Linked DNA regions of Homo sapiens: regions 1 and 2 are each linked to region 3. The links are contacts of gene promoters, found by promoter capture Hi-C in human tissues and cell types (Jung and others, 2019). All regions are on one chromosome and are shown on one strand. The core of a region is centred on a gene start or on the middle of the fragment in contact, and the rest is flanking DNA. Distances in the headings are between cores, read along the strand shown. Region 1 has its middle 46 kb from the start of TEX36-AS1. Region 2 holds the start of LOC105378543 (a long non-coding RNA gene). Region 3 holds the start of CTBP2 (C-terminal binding protein 2).

Evidence for each region. Contacts are between HindIII fragments. The study calls those that stand out against the background at their distance.
Region 1: a contact is called between a fragment that was not itself captured here and the fragment with the promoter of CTBP2 in region 3, in 1 of the 25 tissues and cell types used here (spleen).
Region 2: a contact is called between a fragment that was not itself captured here and the fragment with the promoter of CTBP2 in region 3, in 1 of the 25 tissues and cell types used here (dorsolateral prefrontal cortex).

The regions. Positions count from the first base shown.
Region 1 is chr10:125,618,572-125,622,254 of GRCh38, forward strand. It overlaps a transcript of TEX36 not described here. Among named protein-coding and RNA genes, the nearest start is that of TEX36-AS1, 46 kb to the left of the region's middle. The HindIII fragment of the contact is 3,522 bases long and covers 551-3,683 here.
Region 2 is chr10:125,490,674-125,494,317 of GRCh38, forward strand. It overlaps LOC105378543 (a long non-coding RNA gene), which reads right to left and starts at 3,481. Exons shown (of 3, transcript XR_007062331.1): 1 at 3,167-3,481. LOC124902521 (a long non-coding RNA gene) reads left to right here and starts at 3,474. Exons shown (of 2, transcript XR_007062332.1): 1 at 3,474-3,602. The HindIII fragment of the contact is 3,548 bases long and covers 1-3,521 here.
Region 3 is chr10:125,158,376-125,162,093 of GRCh38, forward strand. It overlaps CTBP2 (C-terminal binding protein 2), which reads right to left and starts at 2,188. Exons shown (of 11, transcript NM_001329.4): 1 at 1,944-2,188. RefSeq lists an enhancer at 2,959-3,568. The HindIII fragment of the contact is 19,174 bases long and covers 1-3,718 here.

The sequences.
Region 1 (3,683 bases), core at 1,062-3,561, 460 kb after region 3:
GGGGGGTGCCTCTCAGTTAGGCTGCTCGGGGGTCAGGGGTCACATTTTCCCACTTCCTAATGGAGGTGCCTGCCTCCCAGCTCCACAGCCTAGGTTCCTGATACCATGGCCTTCAGCTAGTGCAGGTCCTGCCCACCCTCCAGACCTTGATCTCCAAGAAAGGTTATCTTTGTCAGAATAGATGCAAGCCAAGGGATACTTAAACACTGACTCCCAAGCCTGCTGCAGTGACGGTGTTAAAGAGATAAGCCTTGGCCAGGCGCGGTGGCTCACGCCTGTAATCCTAGCACTTTGGGAGGCCGAGGCAGGTGGATCACTAGGTCAGGAGATCGAGACCATCCTGGCTAACACGGTGAAACCCCGTCTCTACTAAAAAAAAAAAAAAAAAAAAAAAAAAAAATACAAAAAATTAGCCCAGAGTGGTGTCGGGTGCCTGTAGTCTCAGCTACTTGGGAGGCTGAGGCAGGAGAATGGCATGAACCCGGGAGGTGGAGCTTGCAGTGAGCCGAGATCGCGTCACTGCACTCCAGCCTGGGTGAAAGTGCGAGACTCCATCTCAAAAAAATAAAAATAAAAAAATAAAAATAAAAATAAAGCCTTGGAGAATATCCGTTATTGGTTGAGTTGCACCAAGACAGATCGTGGAGAAAATAAACCCTAAAGCACTGTAAACCTATCACAGAAACAGAGCACTGAAGGCAAGCAATGGCGGGAAAGAACAAAATCAACAGGAGGCACCACCACCAAGTTCAGGGGAAGCAGAGGCAAGGGTGCAAATCCTTCAAAGCCGTGCAGGCACCACCTCTGCAGGGCTCCATCCCTGGTCCCTGCCCCAACACCACCACCCACATTCCCCTCTCCTCATAGTAGAGGTCTCCACCACCATGCCGTCTGCTCCTTGAGAACACGGACTATGCCTCATCATTTTGTGTCTCCAAGCACTTTTTGAAAGCTCAGATGGTGAAGTAATTTGTTTTTTGTTTGTTTGTTTGTTTTTGAGACGGAGTCTCGCTCTGTAGCCCACGCTGGAGTGCAGTGGCGCTGTCTTGGCTCGCTGCAACCTCCGCCTCCCGGGTCCAGGTTCAAGCAATTCTCCTGCCTCAGCCTCCCGAGTATCTGGGATTACAGGCGCACACCACCATGCCCAGCTAATTTTTGTACTTTTAGTAGAGACGGGGTTTCACCATATTGGCCAGGCTGGTCTTGAACTCCTTACCTCATGATCCACCTGCCTCCGCCTCCCAAAGTGCTGGGATTACAGGCGTGAGCCACCTCGCCCGACCATTTTTTACTATTTATTTATAAATATATATATATATGTGTGCATATATATATATACATCTATATATCACCTAGGTGCATGTATCATTGTAAAAATTTTTCACATCATTAAATATTCTTGTAAAATATGATTTATTAGTAGCTACATAATGTTGCATCTTGTACCTAAGCATTCTCTATTTTGCCAGGTATTTAGCTTTGCTCTTTGAGCTGTTTTAAGTAACTCTGTAACATGCATCTTTGCCCCTAAATCTTTGTCTGAGTATCTTGTCAGTCCCCTAGGATTTGTCCTACTTGGGTCAAAAGCTATGAACATTTACAGGGCTGCTGAGATATACTACTACATTCCTTCCAGAAATGTACAAGCACTGTCTGAAGTTACCCATCTCAACAAATCCTTGCGAGCACTAGGTTTTAAATTATAATAATAAAAATCTTCGCTCATTTTGTCAAGAGAAATGGAAACTCATTGTTGCTTTAATGGCCTTTTCTTTGATTACTAGTGAAGCTGAACATTTCCTCATTTGGCTACTGTCCATTTGTAATTTATCTTTTGTGAGTTTTCTGTTCATTCCTTCTTCCCTTTCTCTCTGTCTCCCTCTTTCCCTCTGACATTCAGTGAAGATGTGTTGAGCATTGATTTGTCAGACCATGGCAAACAGGGATCAGGAAGATACAGTCAAGGACTCACAACACACCCCAGGCCAGAACACTAGCTGGAGCCAGTGACAGTTGCTGCCAGAAGGCAATCACAAGTCAATTTTTTTTAATTGTGGTAAAATGCACATAAGATAAAATGTGTCAGCTTAACTATTTTTAAATATATACTTCAGTAGTGTTAAGCTTATTTACATTGCTATGCAACCCATCTCCAGAACATTTTCATCTTGCAAAATTGAAAATCTGTACCCATTAAACCGTAACTCCTCAGACCTCCCTCCCCCAGAACCTGGCAACCACCATTCCAGTTTCCATCTCTGTGAATTTGACTACTCTGGGAACCTCAATTAAGTAGAATCATATAGCATGTGTGTTTTTGTGGCTGGTTTATTTTATTTAATATAATATCCTCAAGATTTATCCATGTTGTAGCATGTGTCAGAATTTCCTTCCTTTTTTAAAGCTAAATAATATTCCATTGTATGGATAGACCACATTTTGTGTGTTCATTCATCCATCAATGGACACTTATTTCTATGTTTTGGCTGTAGTGAATTGTGTTGCTATAAAAATGGGTATACAGATACAGTATCCCCAAATACCTGCAAGTATCTTCTGGGTATATATTCAAAATATTATTTGGGGATATATACACTCTGAGTATATAGAATAGCTATCCAAAGAATATTTTGGATATATACCCAGGAGCGGAATTGCTGAGTCATGTGGTAATTCGATTTTTCGTTCTTTGAGGAGCCATCGTGTGTTAAGCAGTCACACCATTTTACATTCCCACCAGCAGAGCACAGGGGCTCCAATTTCTCCACATCCTCACCAACACTTGGCATTTTCTGTTTTTTTTTTAATAGTAGTCATCCTGACAGATGAGAGCTGATATCTCATTTTGCTTTTGATGTGCATGTCCCTAATGATTAGTGACATGTTTTCATGTGCTGGTGTGGTGTGTATCTTCCCAGTGTGTAATTTTTGATATTGCCTTTTCCACTTATATTAGTCAGGGCTCTCCAGAGAGACAGAACTAATAGGATATATGTATGTATAAAATGGAGTTTTTTAGGGAGAATTGACTCACATGATCACAAAGAGAAGTCCCACGATAGGCCATCTGCAAACTGGGAAAGAGAAAAGCCAGCAGTAGCTCAGTTCAAGTCTGAAAGCCTCAAACCCAGGGAAGCCAACAGTGTAGCCTTCCATCTGTGGCCAAAGGCCCAAGAGCCCCCCAGAAGCCACTGGTTCAAGTCCCAGAGTCCAAAGGCTGAAGAATCTGGAGTATGATGTCCAAGGACAGGAGGAGTGGGAGGAAGCACCCATCATGGAAAAAGAAGGAAGCCAGAAGACCCAGGAAGCCAGATCATCCCAACTCCCTCCACCTGCTTCGTTCTAGCCGCACTGGCAGCAGATGGGATGCTGTCACCCACATTGAGGGCGGGTCTTCCTCTCCCAGTCCACTGACTCAAATGCCAATCTCCTCTGGCAACACCCTCACAAACACACCAAGAAACAATACTCTACCACCCATGTAGCCATTCTTCAATCCAATCAAGTTGACACCTAATATTAACCATCACAAGTCTACCCATTGTCAACTGGGCACCCATACACATGTCCTGAAATCATACTTAATCTCCACATAAAGACAATAATAAGGTCGTAATTATGCCTAACATAATACAGCTATCCTTCGTACAACAAGAAGCACACTAATCCTTAACCTAAATGCT
Region 2 (3,644 bases), core at 498-2,997, 330 kb after region 3:
TACACATCCTAATATCCACGGGTCCCTCTCTCTCATCTGACTACTGCACACATGTGAATCTGCTGGTGCTCAGGAGTTCAGGTACTGGCCTTAAGTGGGGAAGTTAAGGAAAGAAAGTCTCCAAGACCTAGCATGATGCAGACCTGCTTGCTCCTACACCAACACAGTAAGTCTGGGATGTGACTGAATCTCCCAGAACTTGTCTTAAAATATTAAAATCCCTCCTATACTTTGAGTCCTGCTTTATGGTTGTGATTCGCTATGAGATAAATAGAAATTTTTAGACTTCATTTATGTAAAAAGAAGAAAGAGAATTTATGCCTTTAAAACACAGAAAGGAACTCAAGTTTGGCTGGGTTTGGGGCTACTGGATTTTGAAAAGAAGGCAGCATTTCCTAAACACTGGTCCCTGTCATTCTTTCTTACTTGGCTCTTTCTTGCTAAACTTTTCAATGAGGACTTGGAGCTGCCGTGAATGTCCCTGGGTTAAAAGAACATATTAAATCAGTATTTGGTAAGAAGGGAGGTAAAATCCCCAAAATATAGGAGTAACTCTACCCATGGACAAGATGACAATCTAGATGCACTATACGTAATCAATGGCGTGTTTTTTGGGGGAAAGATACAAAGCTTTTTCTGGAATTCTTTGATAAAATACACACTTGAACCACAAAAAAGGAAATGTGACAAGGAAATACTTTGCATATTGAGTTGTGGCCATGGTTATGGAGGAGTGTACACCATTTCCAATTAAACAAAGAAATAGGCAGCAGAAAACACTTTAAAAAGGAAAACCACGGAGTCTCTTTCAAAGAAGAGTGGAATTTTCACTCTACCTTATTCATTAAAGTTAGAAACTGCCATCCCTTTAATGAGCAGCCTGAGGGTGGAGAAATTGTCTTGAATAGCTATATTCCAGGGAGCACTTGGCATCATCACTGAAACATAGTGTGGGATTGCAATTGTGTGGGGTTTTTTTTCCCAGTGAATAGGAAGCGATCAAAGATAACATTGCCTGAGAAAGAATTAAAATAGTGTAACATTGCATCAAGTTATAGCCAATGCCAATCATTATATGGATGAATGAACAAGATCCTTTAAATAATGGTATAGACGTGCTGTGGCATTCAAAATATAATGACCAACTTCGGGGGGGTTCAAATAAAAACGCAAAAGCATGTGCCCACTCATCTGGCCAAAACAGTGAAGTATAAGCACGTCTCTTTAAATAGATCTGCAAGCCATATCCTTCATTTACATCATCTATAAAACACTGGACTATAGGAAGTAAATTAATTCACAAAGACTGCCACAGAAATTTTATATTAGCAAGGCGAAATGCTATCTATGACGAGACTAGGAAAATTAGAGGCACAATCAGAAAAAATAAAGTAAAAGGGATTTATATAATTACAGTGTGATCACCTTTCCCTCTGTGAAAGGACAGGAAAGGAAAGCACAATGCAGGAATTGAATTCATCATTGTGTGGATGAGAGCTCCTGGCATATAATGCTAGACAGAGCTATTTACTGGAAAAAGTGTTGCTTTATTTACATGCTAAACAGCATCACCTTCTAGCTTCAGAAGACTGACAAATAACAGCATAGCAAGGAAGAGAAAGAAAAGGCAATCTTCCCTACTCCAGACAGAATTGGAACAGGATGGACACATATTGTCACCAATCCAAACATCTTGACCCCATCGCTAGAAAATGGAATCCCCAGCTTCTCCAAACATCTCCAAAGAGATCATCTTTGCTTTTTTGGTTACAAGAATGATAACAAGGAAACTCGACTCTGCATCCAATAGGAGGGATGAGAGCAGGGAAAAGAAAATCAGCACACTACTTAGTCTAGGAAATCTCCACAGCACAACTCTTTCAAAAGATGGAAAAAATAAAATTTAATCTGTGACAGAGGATACAGAAATGAGTCCAAATGCACCTCCTTGTGCCCTTAACCAAAATAATAATAATAATAATAATAATAATAATTCGATCTAATGAACAAAGAAAGACTGGCTGATGAATGAAGTGAATTGTTTTAATGCAGTAAACAGGAGGTCTGAATAAAGAGATCAAAGGAGGCCAGAGTGCAATGCACCCACAAGTGCAATTGCTCCCCAGGGAGTGACAAGAATAAAATTGCAAGATTTTGCTCCAAGTTACAGCCAGTGGTTCTAATCTAGTTGTCTATGCTAATCAAGGCACAGCCTTTGAGCTTCCTCCAAAAAGATTTCACTTTTTGATTTAGAAAATAATGCTTGAACTTGCAGTTGGTATTTATAAATTCTGACAGATACCAGGAGGGGACATGAAAGCACTGTGTGGGAAAACAAATAAAATACCCAGGATATCATTCTAGCCTTTCCTATTCTTAGTTATGAAAGCTTTGGCAAATAATTTTATCTCTGGGCAACTACTTCTAAATTTTATGCATTTACCTTGTCCTAAATATTTGTATTTAACAATAATTATAACACCAACAAATATTTTTCTTAAACACAAACAAAAAAACTAGACAGAAGATTTACATAACAACCTGTATTGACAGAATATCCATAGTTTTCATTTCTCATTAGATGTTTATTGAGTGAGATGAAGGCTTTAAGATTATCTGGGTAACATTTACTTATATTACTTAAAATTTGTTAATGAGACTATAAATAGTTGCTTGGACAGAAATGAAAAATACATGTTTGCATGACTCAGTTTGAATTTTGGTTGAGATGAATTTTGGTTGAGGGACAGGGATGGTGAAAAGCTCACAGGGAAGCACACTGGAAAGTGTGGTGATGCGAATGCCAGGTAAGGAAAGAGGGAGCTGGTTCACTGCCTAGAATCGGCCATGTTTCCTTTGCAGATTCCAGCATATTGAGGGCTCAGTTAGCAGCTCTGCAGAGGGTGGACATTCACCAAGGATGTGCCCCAGGAGGAAATAAGCCCCACCCACCCCACCTGGCAGCTGACCCGGGCTGCATGTATGCCAGCGAGCATAGGCATTACCCAGTAGCCATTATGCTATTATCTGGCTGCCATTGCCTTTTAGTAATTACCCAGCAGCCATTGCCCTGCAACCATTACCCAGCAATCATTGCCCTGCAGCCATTGCCCTGAAGCTATTACCCAGTGGCTATTACTCAGCTGCCATCCCCTGGCACCATTACCTGCTGTCATTATCCATCAGCCATTTTGTGTGGGTCTCCAGCGACCCAACGTGGAGCTGCTGCCACTGTGCCCAAGTTGCACTGTTGCAGGAGAAGCTGGCCGCAGTCTCCCTTCCTGACCCAGAAATCCTTTATGGCCATAAGGCCCAGCACAGGGGCCTGGGCCATGCTCCTGGAGGGAGCCAGGTCATTTGCAGGAGGGATCCTTGACTTGGGGAATGACAGGAGGCAAACAGGAAGTGTCCTTTCATGGTGGGTGAAGGATGAAGCTGATAAAAGCCTGACCACCTGGGCAGTTATCCAAGGCCCAATCTGGAAGAAGCCTAAGGGAATTCTGGAATCCCTGTGGAGTTCTAAAGGGATTCAGAGACTGTTTTATTTACCACAATACATCTCACTTCTGGGGCTGGACAACTACTTTGCGACACTGGTTTGAGTAAGACAAACTGCCTAGGAGGATGGGTTAACTATAAGATTC
Region 3 (3,718 bases), core at 938-3,437:
GAAAGAATCACTTTGTAAACTTCCCCAAAATATAACGTCCCCTCAAAATTATCCATGTCAGATAAAAATATACCAGTCTCTAGAATATCCAACAGAATTGCAAATAAGGCGTTTAGCATTTTAAATTCCCAATGCATATTTATAGAATAGAATTCTCTTGTCTATCCTTCCAGCCACTCGCATCAGACTCTCTAAGAACTTAACCCGATCTCCAATCTTTAAAGAAAAAAGGGGGTAAATACACAGAAGGATTGTTTACCCCGGACAGGGCAAGGAAGCCCGGTATGACGACGTAGGCCATTGCCAGCAGCCTCCACCACGAGCACGCAGAGCGGGGATTTCTACGAAAAATTCCTCCTCTTCCCTATAAAATCCTAAACGTGGGGTCCTCTGCAGCCAACTGCCGCTTGGGCCGCCTCCGGAAAAAGTACCGGGCGGGGGGAGGGGGGACAACCACAAACACTCGCGCGCACACGCTCACTCCGTGTCCGCGACCGTCGTCGCCGGCGGAAAGCGAGCCACGGGAGGGAGTGTGTGCGCGCGTGTGTGTCTCGGCGCGGCCCGCGGTGACCGAGCTGAGCTCTTGGGCCCGCGGCCTCCGAGCCCCAGGGCGCGGCGTGGGCTGCAGGCGACCCGCCACGCCGCTGGGCCTCCCGCGGGAGAAAGGCCCAGGCACGCCCCGGCTCCCGCGCGCCTCTGCCCAACTCGCCCGGGGCGCTGGGGGCAGCGCGAGGGAGAGAAAGAAAGGCGCTTCCCCTCGGCCGCGCGGGGCCGTCCGGCGCCGCGGAGGGCTGGGAGGAGGAGGAACCGCGGCGGCCCGGCTGTCCCTGCGCCGCACCGGGTCCCTGCCGCCCGGGGCGCGCCCTAGCCAGCCCCTCCTGCTAAACTTTTTCTTTTTGATTCGCCCCACCCGAAAAGTGCGGCCCGGGCGGGGAAGGTGGGGGAGGCGGGCGGGCCGGGCTCCCGGCGGCGGCGGGCGAGGAGGAAGTGGTGCCCGCGGGAGCGCGGCCGGGCAGAGGAAATGCCCGGCCCGCCCGGCCCCCGCCCGCGCCCGCCGCCCGGCCCGCCCAGGCCCCCCGCCCCGCCGCGACTTTGGCGGGCCGAGCCCCGCGCGGCAGTGGCGGCGGCGGCAGCGGCAGCAGATGTGGCCCGGCTGCCCGGAGGAGCCAACAATGCGGGGCCGGCAAAACAAAAGGGTTCCACTTCGCCTCCTTTCCCGTCTTTCACTTGCGCTCCCGGGGAGCCGCGCGGGATCCCCCGCCGGCAGGGGCAGCGCCCCTGGGGACCGAGAGCCGCTCACGCCCCGACTTCCCCACGGAACCCCTCTTCTCCGCGCCCCCCCCACCCTCGCCTCGTAGGCGCAAGGCCCGCCGCACCCCGGCGCGCTCGGACTCCTGTTCCCCGGAGATCCGGCCGTATTGTCCCCGCGGCGCGTCGCGCGCTCGGCCTGGGTCGCCGGCGGCCCCCGGGCGCGCACCCACCGGGCTCAGGGAGCAGGAGCCGGGGGCGCCCAGGGAACCGTCGCCGAGACGCCGCCGCCGCCGCCGCCGCTGCCCTCCGGACGCCGCCGCGCTCGGGGTTTCTTTTTTTTTTTTTTTCAACCCTGATGGGAAGGAAGGTGACCGCCTACTTCGCATTCATCAACTCTCATCACAACAACAAAAATCCTGGCGCAAACGGCGGCCAGCGGGCGCAATCGGTGGCGGGGGCGGGCGGGGACCCCCGAGCCAGCGTCCACCCCCGGGCGCCGAGGGGGGACACGAGGCCGGGGGCACGGACCAAAGATGTCCTCGGATGCCGGCTCCGCGTCCTTCGCCCTCTTCCTCCTCCTCCTCCTCCTCCCTGAGTGGCGCAGTGAGGCGCGGGCGCGGCGCCCCCAGCCCGCGGCCGCAGGTGAGGCGGGGGCGGCGGCGGCCCCAGCCCTCCCCCGGGGCCCCCCTTACCTCGTCCCGGACGGTCGGCGTCCACGGCGAAAGGCGCCCACCCTGGAGGCGGCGGCGGCGGCGTCTCCCGCCCCTCCCACCCCACCCGGCGGCGGTGGCGGTGGCGGCGGCTGTGCGGCCCCCCCTCAGCGCGGCATGGCTCCCGGTTCGGTCCCTCGCTCCTCGGGCCGCCGCCGGCTCCTCCGGGCCGCTCCCGAGCCACCTTAAAATGACACACGCACACAGGGACACACACACAAAAACTTAATCTCTCCAGCTCCCCGCCCCTCCCCCTCCCGCCCTCCCCACCCTCCCTCCGCTCCCCTCCCCTCCCCACCCTACCCCTCCCTTCCCTTCCACCTCCTCCCCTCGCCGCCGAGCCTCTTCCTACTTCCCCACCCACCCCACCCCCTTCCTCCGCCCACCCGGTTCCCAATTCCCCCCGCGTCCCGGCCCCGCGCCCTCCCGCCCGCCGAGAGGGGGCTGCGCTGGGGGTCCCCGGCCCGGGCCCGCCCCGCGCCGCGCTCACCCCCGAGAGGATGCTAATTCCAACTTGGATCGGGGGAGGGAACGTCCTGGATGCCGAGCGCCTCCCGGCTATTTGCTCTTCTTTATTTGTTTTCTCCTCCGGGGAAGGAGAAGGAAAACGGAGAGAAAAGGAAAGGAAAGAAGCGGCGCTGGCCGCAGCTCCCGGTACCCGCTGGCTGCGCAGGAGCTAGGCGGGAGGCGAGGTGAGGGTCGCCGCTCGCTCACTCCTCGCTCCTGTTTTTGGGGGGGGGGGGCAAAGGCGGGGTCTCTTTTTGCAAACCAATGACACAACCCCACATGGGCCGGCCTCGCCCCCTTCAGATACTCCTCACTACAAATCGGCTCTCTCGGGGGATTAGTGGCTCCGCGAAAGTGCACACAAGCGCGGCGGGCGGGAGGGCCAGGGGCCGGGCGCGGCGGGCACTCCCTAGCCCGGCCCCGCCCGGGAGGCCCTCGGGAGGCGCGGGGGCCTCGGTGGCAGGGGCCGAGGTCCTGTCGCGGTGGCTCGGGGTCCGCTGCTCCCCTGGCCCTTCATCCTCCTCCGCCCCTTCCACGTGGGGTACCGGGCAGCCGGCCACGTGGGGGAACGCGAGCCCCGGGTGGCCCCGGTCCCATGGGGCCCCGCCCAGCCAGCGGCGCCAACCAGCCCCCTTCCCGGCCCCCGGGCTCCAACTTCCTCCTGGTGCCCCGCACCGGCCGCTTCTGCCTTCTCAGGCCCGCGGGGTCAGGCGCGGGCCGGCCACAGGGGGCACTTGCGCTCCCCAAATCCAGATCCGGGAGACCGTGCCGGAGAGGCGGCGACCGCTGTGGGTGCGCAGGGAAGGGCCCTCTGTGCTGCAAGTTGCAGCAGTGCTGTGCCCTAAAAGAAGCAAAACATTCTTACACATTGAAAAAAAAAAAAAAGGTTCCCTCTTGCTGCCTGGATCTCGCCGGGGCATTTGAGAAGCCCTGTGTTGGGTCGGAGCCCCGGGTCTCGAGGAGGGAGGCGCGCTGCGGCGTGGGGGCCCGCGACTCGGGGTCCTGGGCTTGCGCGGCGGCCCGGAGCCCACGCCGTCCTGACGTCTCAAGGTTGGAGTCTGCACAGCGAGCCTGGGAATCCAGGCCCAGCGGCCGCTCGCGGCCCAACGAGCACCTGGGCTAAATTCCCCGCCCGTGACCCGCGACGTCCGAGCGCCGTCTCCGGAAGGGAGCTGGTGGCCGTGGAGTGTGGGGTCTTCTCCCTGCGCCCCAGGGCCCCCCAAACTCTTCTCACTACCCTGAGTTCGGCG